Regions from separate parts of the Homo sapiens genome. Here region 1 is linked to region 2. The links are contacts of gene promoters, found by promoter capture Hi-C in blood cells and fetal thymus (Javierre and others, 2016). All regions are on one chromosome and are shown on one strand. Each heading gives the region's core, a stretch centred on a gene start or on the middle of the fragment in contact. The rest is flanking DNA. Distances are from core to core; before and after follow the strand shown.

The links. The method cuts DNA at HindIII sites, captures the fragments that hold promoters and counts their contacts. A CHiCAGO score of 5 or more calls a contact.
Region 1: a fragment that was not itself captured here is called in contact with the fragment with the promoter of TMEM202 in region 2 in 2 of 17 cell types (naive B cells and total CD8 T cells); the score reaches 5.4 in naive B cells.

The regions. Positions count from the first base shown.
Region 1 is chr15:72,543,361-72,547,954 of GRCh38, forward strand. ARIH1 (ariadne RBR E3 ubiquitin protein ligase 1) reads left to right here. Exons shown (of 14, transcript NM_005744.5): 3 at 1,460-1,604. Among named protein-coding and RNA genes, the nearest start is that of MIR630, 42 kb to the right of the region's middle. The HindIII fragment of the contact is 2,745 bases long and covers 1,767-4,511 here.
Region 2 is chr15:72,396,253-72,400,971 of GRCh38, forward strand. TMEM202 (transmembrane protein 202) reads left to right here and starts at 2,053. Exons shown (of 5, transcript NM_001080462.3): 1 at 2,053-2,155; 2 at 2,401-2,656. The coding sequence starts at 2,075. The HindIII fragment of the contact is 10,109 bases long and covers 1-4,719 here.

The sequences.
Region 1 (4,594 bases), core at 1,889-4,388, 150 kb after region 2:
GTAGGAAAGCATTTGATTTTCTGCTTTAAATATATTCTGATTATCTGAATCATCAGAGACATTAATTTTCTATTTGTATGAGTTCCTGACAACTTTTAACTTTCTGATAATCCTCCTTTTTATAATGTGTTGGCATTTCGATTGATAATATGATTATTTCATTGAACTATGCTGTAGTCAAAGTATTTATAAAAAAGATATTTATTTATTAGTCTTAGGAGAAGTGATATGGTTTGTTCTCATTTGAATGATTTTTCTGGAGGTACAGTAAGATATAGTAGCCTTTGACACAAAGCCTAAACAAGACCTTAATTAAAAATATTGGAAATTTCTTTTGAGTATTGATTACTTTTAAAATTGAAAATCTCCTGTTTGTATATAAAGAGCATTATAGTTACTGTAATCTGGGCTTTACAACCCAAAAAGTAATTGACCAGATTGCACATTAATATTTTTGCTGGTTATATTGGTTTTACAGATTGAAAAGTTTTTTTTTTTTTAATATCTATTGCTTTTCCCTTTTGAATAGTAAGCTGTTTCAGGAGGCCAGGGAACATGTCTCATCTGAATTAATTGGAAACATTGTGCTAAGTATTTACTGTTATCTTAACCACCTCAACCCACCTTAAGGTCTGCTCTACTATCTTCTGTCCAGAGGTTTGCTATTTAGTTAAAACTCTAGGTAGTACTTGGCATATATATACTCTTGATGTCTTAGATATGGAACTACTCTATATTTAGATACATATTTTATGAAAAGCTAATATGTAATTTATTTTATATAAAATGTTTGAAGATACACTTCTTTGTTTTATTCCTCCTCCTTTCTCAGTAAATTAAAAATATTTCAAAATAATGTTTAGAAAGCAAGTCTATTATGTAAAATGAGACACGTAATAATTATATTTTTAAGATGATTTGTGCAGTAAGATAAATGCTTTACTGAAGCTAATATGTTTAAATTGCTTTAACTAAAATTATTAATAAAATGAATTCATTTGTATAAAATACAGCCTACCCATGTAAAATATTACTCTTCATAGGTACCCCAGCAACAGCACAACTTTAATCCTTAAGTTTTAGTTGCAGTACTGTTAAAATACTAATAGCTTAATTTCCCAAGATTCAGTTATTTAAAACCAAAGTTTAGGGGGAAAAAGGCAGCAAAACTCAGTCTACTAGTTTACATACATACACACACACACACACACACTCATATATATGAGAGTAGACTGAATTTTTGCTGTTTGCAATATATATATATATGCACATGTATACACACACCTTTATTTGCTATAATTTGTACCATGTAGCTTTTATTTCCTCTGAATAAAAAGGTTGTTATCTTGTTTTATTTTAATTCAACTTCTTGCTTTTCCCTATAGAAAGTCAGGTTTTTGGAGAGCTCTAACAGTGTGCAAGTTGCTGGGCTCTTATCCTTTCTGTTTAAATAATGCAGGTACTTTGATGGAAACCTGGAGAAGCTCTTTGCTGAGTGTCATGTAATTAATCCAAGTAAAAAGTCTCGAACACGCCAGATGAATACAAGGTCATCAGCACAGGATATGCCTTGTCAGATCTGCTACTTGAACTACCCTAACTCGGTGAGTATCTGGTAGTTTAAGGCTAGTGCTGACTTTGTATTTCAGAGGGTAAATCAACTTCCATTATTTAAACAAAGGAAAATTTGTGGGTCTGGGAGTAGTAACCTCTAAGCCATAACCTATCAATGTATTCAGTGTGAGGAAAGGAAGAAAAAGAGTAAAAGCTTGGTTCCTCTTACCTCCAACCCCCATTTGTTTTTTAAAGCAGCAACAACTTGTCCAAGTTGTCATTTATAGACCTAAATCTTTCTGGAGTTTATTCTATCACCATGGGAGAATTGTGTAATAGTAGGCAGTAAGTAGAATTCTTTCTCATCCAAATTAAAATAGATTTAAACTTTAAGTGTTTTTTAAATATCCAGAAACACTCATAAAATACCGTTAATACTATTTGCTAGGGAACTCTCAGAATTCTTCAGAAGATAAGATTTTCACTTAATCAAATCCATTCAAATGGAGATTGTTAAATATGGTATGTGGGGACAGAGTTGGAGCAGAACCAGTGATATAGCAAGAGAACCAAAGAACTGATGTTAATCCCTTAAGTACAAATAACCTTCCTAAAAATTTATTGAACTGAAGCTGGACTCAGTGGCTCATGCCTATAATCCCAGCACTTGGGGAAGCCAAGGTGGGCAGATCACTTGAGGCCAGGAGTTTGAGGCCAGCCTGGCCAACATGGCGGAAACCTGTCTCAACTAAAAATACAAAAAAATTATCCTGGCATGATGGTGCATGTCTATAATCCCAGCTACTTGGGAGGCTGAGGCATGAGAATTGCTTGAGCCTGGAAGGCAGAGGTTACAGTGAGCTGACATCATGCCACTGTATTCCAGCCTGGGCGACAGAGTGAGACTCCGTCTCAAAATATAAAATAGAATTTACTGAACTGAGATGATTTACTTACTTGATTTACTTGAGTGTTTACTAAGGAAGTTTAGTCTTAAGATGTCTAAGATAACTTAATTCTATGATAATTACAACTGTCTTGTTCATATTCTCTGCTTTAATAGTTAAGCATCTCTTTCTAATAATTACTATATAACAAGTCTTTGACACTGTTATTTTAACAATTATTTGGTTGATGGGGGTCTCACTATGCTACCCAGGCTGGAGTGTTATGGCTATTCACAGGCACAGTCAGTGTACTACAGCCTTCATCAGACTCTTGGGCTCAAGTGATCCTTTTCCCTCAGCCTCCCAAGTAGCTGGAACTACAGACGTGCACCATCAAGCCTGGCTAATATTATATTTATATTGAAGGATTTTTATTGTTTATCTTAGAGTTGTATATGTGTATCTCTAATGGGGTCCATTTGTGGGGAGTTAACTTGTTCACATGTACAAGTGATGAGAAAAGTTTTAAAAGAAAATAAAGTACTCTTAGAGAAATAGAATGATCAGTGAGTTATTTAGTAGGTAAAGTGGTGAACTGAATTTTCAAATTCTCAAGTTCTGATCGTAACTCTAACGTGAAATTTTTGGCTTTAGCGGGAGGTAAGCCATTTAATGTCACTGGGTTTTTCTTTTTTCTTTCTTTCTTTTGAGACGGCCTTGCTCTGTTGTCTAGGCTGGAGTGCAGTGATGTGATCACTGCAGCCTCAAACTCCTGGGCTCAAGCGATCCTCCCACCTCAGCCTCCCAAGTAGCTGGGACCACAGGCGCATGCCACCATGTCTGGCTGATTTTTCTGTGTGTGTGTGTGTGTGTTTTGTTTGTTTTGTTTTGTTTGTTTGTTTTTTTTGTAGAGACGGGGTTTCACCTGTGTGTGTGTGTTTTGTTTGTTTGTTTGTTTTGGTTTTTTTGTAGAGACGGGGTTTCACCATGTTGCCCAGGCTGGTCTGGAACTTGTCTGAGCTCAAGCAGTCTGCCCACCTGGCCTCTGAAAGTGCTGGCATTATAGGTGTGAGCCACCACGCTCCTCCAGTTTTGGTTTCTTCTCCTTTTCTTTTCTTTTCTTTTTTTTTGGAGGGGGGGGGGTGGGACGGAGTCTTGCTCTGTCGCCCAGGCTGGAGTGCAGTGGTGCGATCTCGGCTCACTGCAAGCTCCGCCTCCCAGGTTCATGCCATTCGCCTGCCTCAGCCTCCCGAGTAGCTGGGACTACAGGCGTCTGCCATCACGCCTGGCTGATTTTTTGTGTTTTTAGTAGAGACGGGGTTTCACCATGTTAGCCAGGATGGTCTCGATCTCCTGACCTCATGATCTGCCCGCCTCAGCATGCCAAAGTGCTGGGATTACAGGCGTGAGCCACCGCGCCTGGCCTCTTTCCTTTTCTCTTTTTTTTTTGACACGAGTTTTGCTCTTGTTGCCCAGACTGGAGTGCAATGGCACAGTCTTGGCTCACTGCAGCCTGCGCCTCCTGGGTTCAAGTGATTCTCCTGCCTCAGCCTCCCGAGTAGCTGGGACTACAAGCGCCGGCCACCACACCCGGCTAATTTTTGTATTTTTAGTAGAGACGGGGTTTCACCATATTGGCCAGGCTGGTCTTGAACTCCTGACCTCAGGTGATCCACCCACCTTGGCCTCCCATAGTGCTGGGATTACAGGTGTGCACCACCGCACCCAACAGTTTCTTTTTTCTTTCTGATGAGTTGAATAAGATACTCTTTCAATTTTCTTCCAACCTGAGTATTGTATCATTTCTCTTACCTTAAATCACAATTCTAATTTGAATATTTTTTAAAAAGTACTACTGTTACAATATATTAATATTTTGACTATTTTATTGTCTTTAACAGATTCTCCTTGCCAGTTGACATTTATATAGTGCTTACAGTTAAATGTTTCTGTGAGGTAATACTAAGACCCAGGTTTTACAAGGTTTCCTTACTTCTTGGCGTTTTTCCTCCTGCCCTATCATAGACAGTTCCTTCTTAACTTAAATCTTAACTCTGATTTGAGTACTGAAGCTTGGCTGCTTCCAAATATCCACTATAACTTTCTCGCTGTTCTTAATATGGTCTAACAATCTCAACAAACTAGAATTCAAA
Region 2 (4,719 bases), core at 803-3,302:
TTGCAGCCTCTGCCCGGCCGCCACCCCGTCTGGGAAGTGAGGAGCGTCTCTGCCTGGCCGCCCATCGTCCGGGATGTGAGGAGCCCCTCTGCCTGGCTGCCCAGTCTGGAAAGTGAGGAGTGTCTCTGCCCGGCCGCCATCACACCTAGGAAGTGAGGAGCGCCTCTTCCCGGCCGCTATCCCATCTAGGAAGTGAGGAGCGTCTCTGCCCGGCCGCCCATCGTCTGAGATGTGGGGAGCGCCTCTGCCCTGCTGCCCCGTCTGGGATGTGAGGAGCGCCTCGGCCTGGCCGCGACCCTGTCTGGGAGGTGAGGAGCGTCTCTGCCCAGCTGCCCTGTCTGAGAAGTGAGGAGACCCCCCGCCTGGCAACCGCCCCGTCTGAGAAGTGAGGAGCCCCTCCGCCCTGCTGCCACCCCGTCTGGGAAGTGAGGAGCGTCTCCGCCCAGCAGCCACCCTGTCCGGGAGGGAGGTGGGGGTCAGCCCCCGCCAGGCCAGCCGCCCCGTCCGGGAGGGAGGTGGGGGGTCAGCCCCCCACCCGGCCAGCCGCCCCGTCCGGGAGGTGAGGGGCACCTCTGCCCGGCCGCCCCTACTGGGAAGTGAGGAGCCCTTCTGCCCGGCCAGCAGCCCCGTCCGGGAGGGAGGTGGGGGGTCAGCCCCCTGCCCGGCCAGCCGCCCCGTCCGGGAGGTGAGGGGCGCCTCTGCCCGGCCGCCCCTACTGGGAAGTGAGGAGCCCCTCTGTCCGGCCAGCCGCCCCGTCCGGGAGGGAGGTGGGGGGTCAGCCCCCCGCCCGGCCAGCCGCCCCGTCCGGGAGGTGAGGGGCGCCTCTGCCTGGCCGCCCCTACTGGGAAGTGAGGAGCCCCTCTGCCCGGCCACCACCCCGTCTGGGAGGTGTACCCAACAGCTCATTGAGAACGGGCCATGATGACAATGGCGGTTTTGTGGAATAGAAAAGGGGGAAAGGTGAGAAAAAGAATGAGAAATCGGATGGTTGCTGTGTCTGTGTAGAAAGAAGTAGACATGGGAGACTTTTCATTTTGTTCTGTACTAAGAAAAATTCTTCTGCCTTGGGATCCTGTTGATCTATGACCTTACCCCCAACCCTGTGCTCTCTGAAACATGTGCTGTGTCCACTCAGGGTTAAATGGATTAAGGGCGGTGCAAGATGTGCTTTGTTAAACAGACGCTTGAAGGCAGCATGTTCGTTAAGAGTCATCACCACTCCCTAATCTCAAGTACCCAGGGACACAAACACTCTGCCTAGGAAAACCAGAGACCTTTGTTCACTTGTTTATCTGCTGACCTTCCCTCCACTATTGTCCTATGACCCTGCCAAATCCCCCTCTGCGAGAAACACCCAAGAATGATCAATAAAAAAATAAAAAAATTAAAAAAAAAATACAAAGATTAATTTCTCTAATGATCTGAACATAGAAACCAGCAAAGATTTCATGATGAAGATGCAAAAAGCAATTGCAACAAAAGCAAAAATTGACAAATGGGATCTAATTAAACTAAAGAGCTTCTGCATAGCAAAAGAAACTATCAATAGCGTACACAGAAAACCTACAGAAAGGGAAAATTTTTTTGCAAACTATGCATCTGACAAAGGTCTAATATCCAGCATCTGTAAGGAACTCAAATAAATTTACAAGAAAAAGACAAATAACCCCATTAAAAAGTGGGCAAAGGGCATGAACACTTTTCAAAAGAAGAAACACATGTGGCCAACAAGCATATGAGTTCCCCTTTTTTTATTTGCTATGAGGGAACTGTGTCTTATTTATTTTTGTGTCCCAGAAGCTAGCACAAAGCCTGACACACAGCCACTGCTAACAAAATGTTTGTGGATTTATTTAATAAAAGAGTTGGGAGTAGGTGGAGAATGGAGGGTGGGGAGCATCACACATACATGCACATGCTTAAAATGTGGTGATTTCTTCCTGATCTGACCAGATCAAAAATATAAAACAGAAACAGGATCTATGCCATGGGTCCTGGCCCTTTTTGCTTCTGCCAGCATGTGTGAGGAGATGCAGAGACAAATTCCGTGGCAGTTAGAGAACTAACTGCCAAGATGGAGCGAAGGGAACATTTAACCTTGACTTTCCACAGTCCTGAGGTTCCCAAAATAAAGGGGAACCGGAAATACCAAAGGGTGAGGAGGTATCTAATTGAAAGTCAGATGGGAAGAAGAGAACTTACTTAAAGGCAGGGCTACACAGAGCATCCTAAAGACAGAAAAGATCACCCTGAAAATTGTGGGGTTTTTTTTTTTTAGGAGTAGGGAAAAATATCTATAAATCAAACACACATGGGAATGCTTGAGGTAGAGAAGAGCGGGTGACCCTGGGGATCAGGGGTTATTCTTTCGGGTAGGCAATATTTCCCTCATCCTTGTAGCCTACCGTCCCTGCCAAGAAACATCCAAGTGCCTCGATGTCATGCCAAAGGCAGCAGCAGCTTATGGATCAGGCACACATCTACATCCGAACGCTCTGTGGCAGCCTCTGTAGTTTTAGCCTCCTAATGCTGATCGCCATGTCCCCACTGAACTGGGTACAGTTTCTGGTGATCAAGAATGGCCTTGAGCTCTACGCAGGACTCTGGACCTTATGCAACCATGAGCTGTGCTGGAGCCACACACCCAAGCCACCCTGTGAGTGCCACCGAATTAAATGCCACAGGCCCCACACAATTGCAGAGCTTTCTGCTCACACAAATTGGCCCTTCATGTTTCTTCCTCCAAGATCTTTTGGCCTTCACCTCTCCAAGTGCAGGATGGATCTTTCTTTGGTATCCTCAGTGTGCCCTTTCTCTCTCCTATTCCAGGTTGTTTCCTGTCCTAAATAATGGGTTATACTCTCTTTATGGGAAGAACTGTTTTTGTTTGTTGGTTGGTTTTTCGAGACAGGCTCTTGCTCTAACGCCTAGCCGAAGTGCAAAAGCACTATCATTGCTCACTGCAGCCTCCACCTCCAGGACTCAAGCAATCTTCCTGTTCAACCTCCTGAGTAGGTGGAACTACAGATGTGTGCCAACACTCCTGGCTAATTTTTAATTTTTTTAAATTTTTTTTTCTTTTGTAGAGACAAGTTCTCATTATATTTCCCAGGCTGGTCTCAAAGTCCTGGCCTCAAGTGATCCTCCCAAAGTACCAGGACTATAGGTGTAAGCCACCATGCCTGCCCTAGGAATAACTCATTTACAAGGTGTTACTGCTAAGCAATGTGATTGGTATTCTAATGTGGCTTGCAGAATTAGAAGAGAAGTGATTGATCATAGCTGGAAGATAAAGCAAATATCTTAACCTCTATTAGATTTAACTTTCAAGGTCAGCTTGTTCTTCTCCTAGCAGTGGAATAGAACTTAAATGTACGTTAGATATGTGGTATAACAAATGCCAGCTATGAAGATAATGTTATTTATGTCAAATTTTATGTGAATTTAAATAAATCTGAAAGTGCAACACAAAATATTTTAAAATAAGTTTTTGGGGCTAAAAATAACATATGCATGAATTTTTCAATCAAACCAAAAACTTAGAGGAAAGATATCATTACACTGACAGTTTTCCCATAACCCGCAAGATATACATTTACACAAAGAAGTGGGTATTGTGAAAGAAAACATATGTGAGTAAAGCATCTATTCTCATCACATAAGCAGGGGTCCCATCTATTCTCCTCACATAAGCAGGAGGGGAGCACCTGTGCCCAACTCTGAGGTACAGCATCAGTTGTTTGGCCATGGGCTGTGACATTTGATATTAAGGGACAGTATCCTGCATGATCTTGAGAAGAAACTAAAATCAAAGGCAGACAGACAATTCAACTGCATAAAACGAAAACTAGAGAAAATATTTGCAACAATTATGAAAGATAAAGGTTAATGGCCTTAATATAGTAAAAGGATACACAAAGTATTACAAAGACACAAACTCAAATAAATAAGTTCTTTTTGAACAGACATGCACAAAAGAAGAACTATAACTATCTAATAAACATAGGAAAAATAATTTAACCTCAATCATTAAAGAAAGGTAAATCAAATGAATAACAAGATGTAACTTTTCAACCACCATATTAACAGATTTTTAAATGATAATGCAACTGCTATCACTCCCATACGCATTCCTGTACATGCCATGCAAATTGGTATAACTAAAGCAATATGATTAGGTGTATCCAGAGACTTAAAAATGTTCATCTCCTTTGAGTAAATAATTCCATTTCTAGAAATTAATTCCAAGGAAATAACTAGAAATGGATTAAAAGGTTTAGGCAAAAAGATTAAGCTGCAATCATATTTATGTAACTGGGTGCCCAGGCTAAAATTTCATCCTTAAGATTATTATTTAAATTTTTAATAAATTAGGGCTGGGTGTGGTGACTCACGCCTGTAATCCCAGTGTTACCAGAAAGGGGTCCTGATCCAGACCCCAGGAGAGGGTTCTTGGATCTTGGGCAAGAAAGAATTCAAGATGAGTCCATAGAGTAAAGTGAAAGCAAATTTAAGAAAGTAAAGGAATAAAAGAATGGCTACTCCATAGGAAGAGGAGCCCCGAGGGCTGCTGTTTGCCCATTTTAATGGCTATTTCTTTATTATATGCTAAACAAGGGGTGAATTATATTCATAAGTTTTTGGGGAAAGAGGTGGGCAATTCCCGGAACTAAGGGTTTCTCCCCTTTTTAGACCATATAGGGTAAATTCCTGACATTG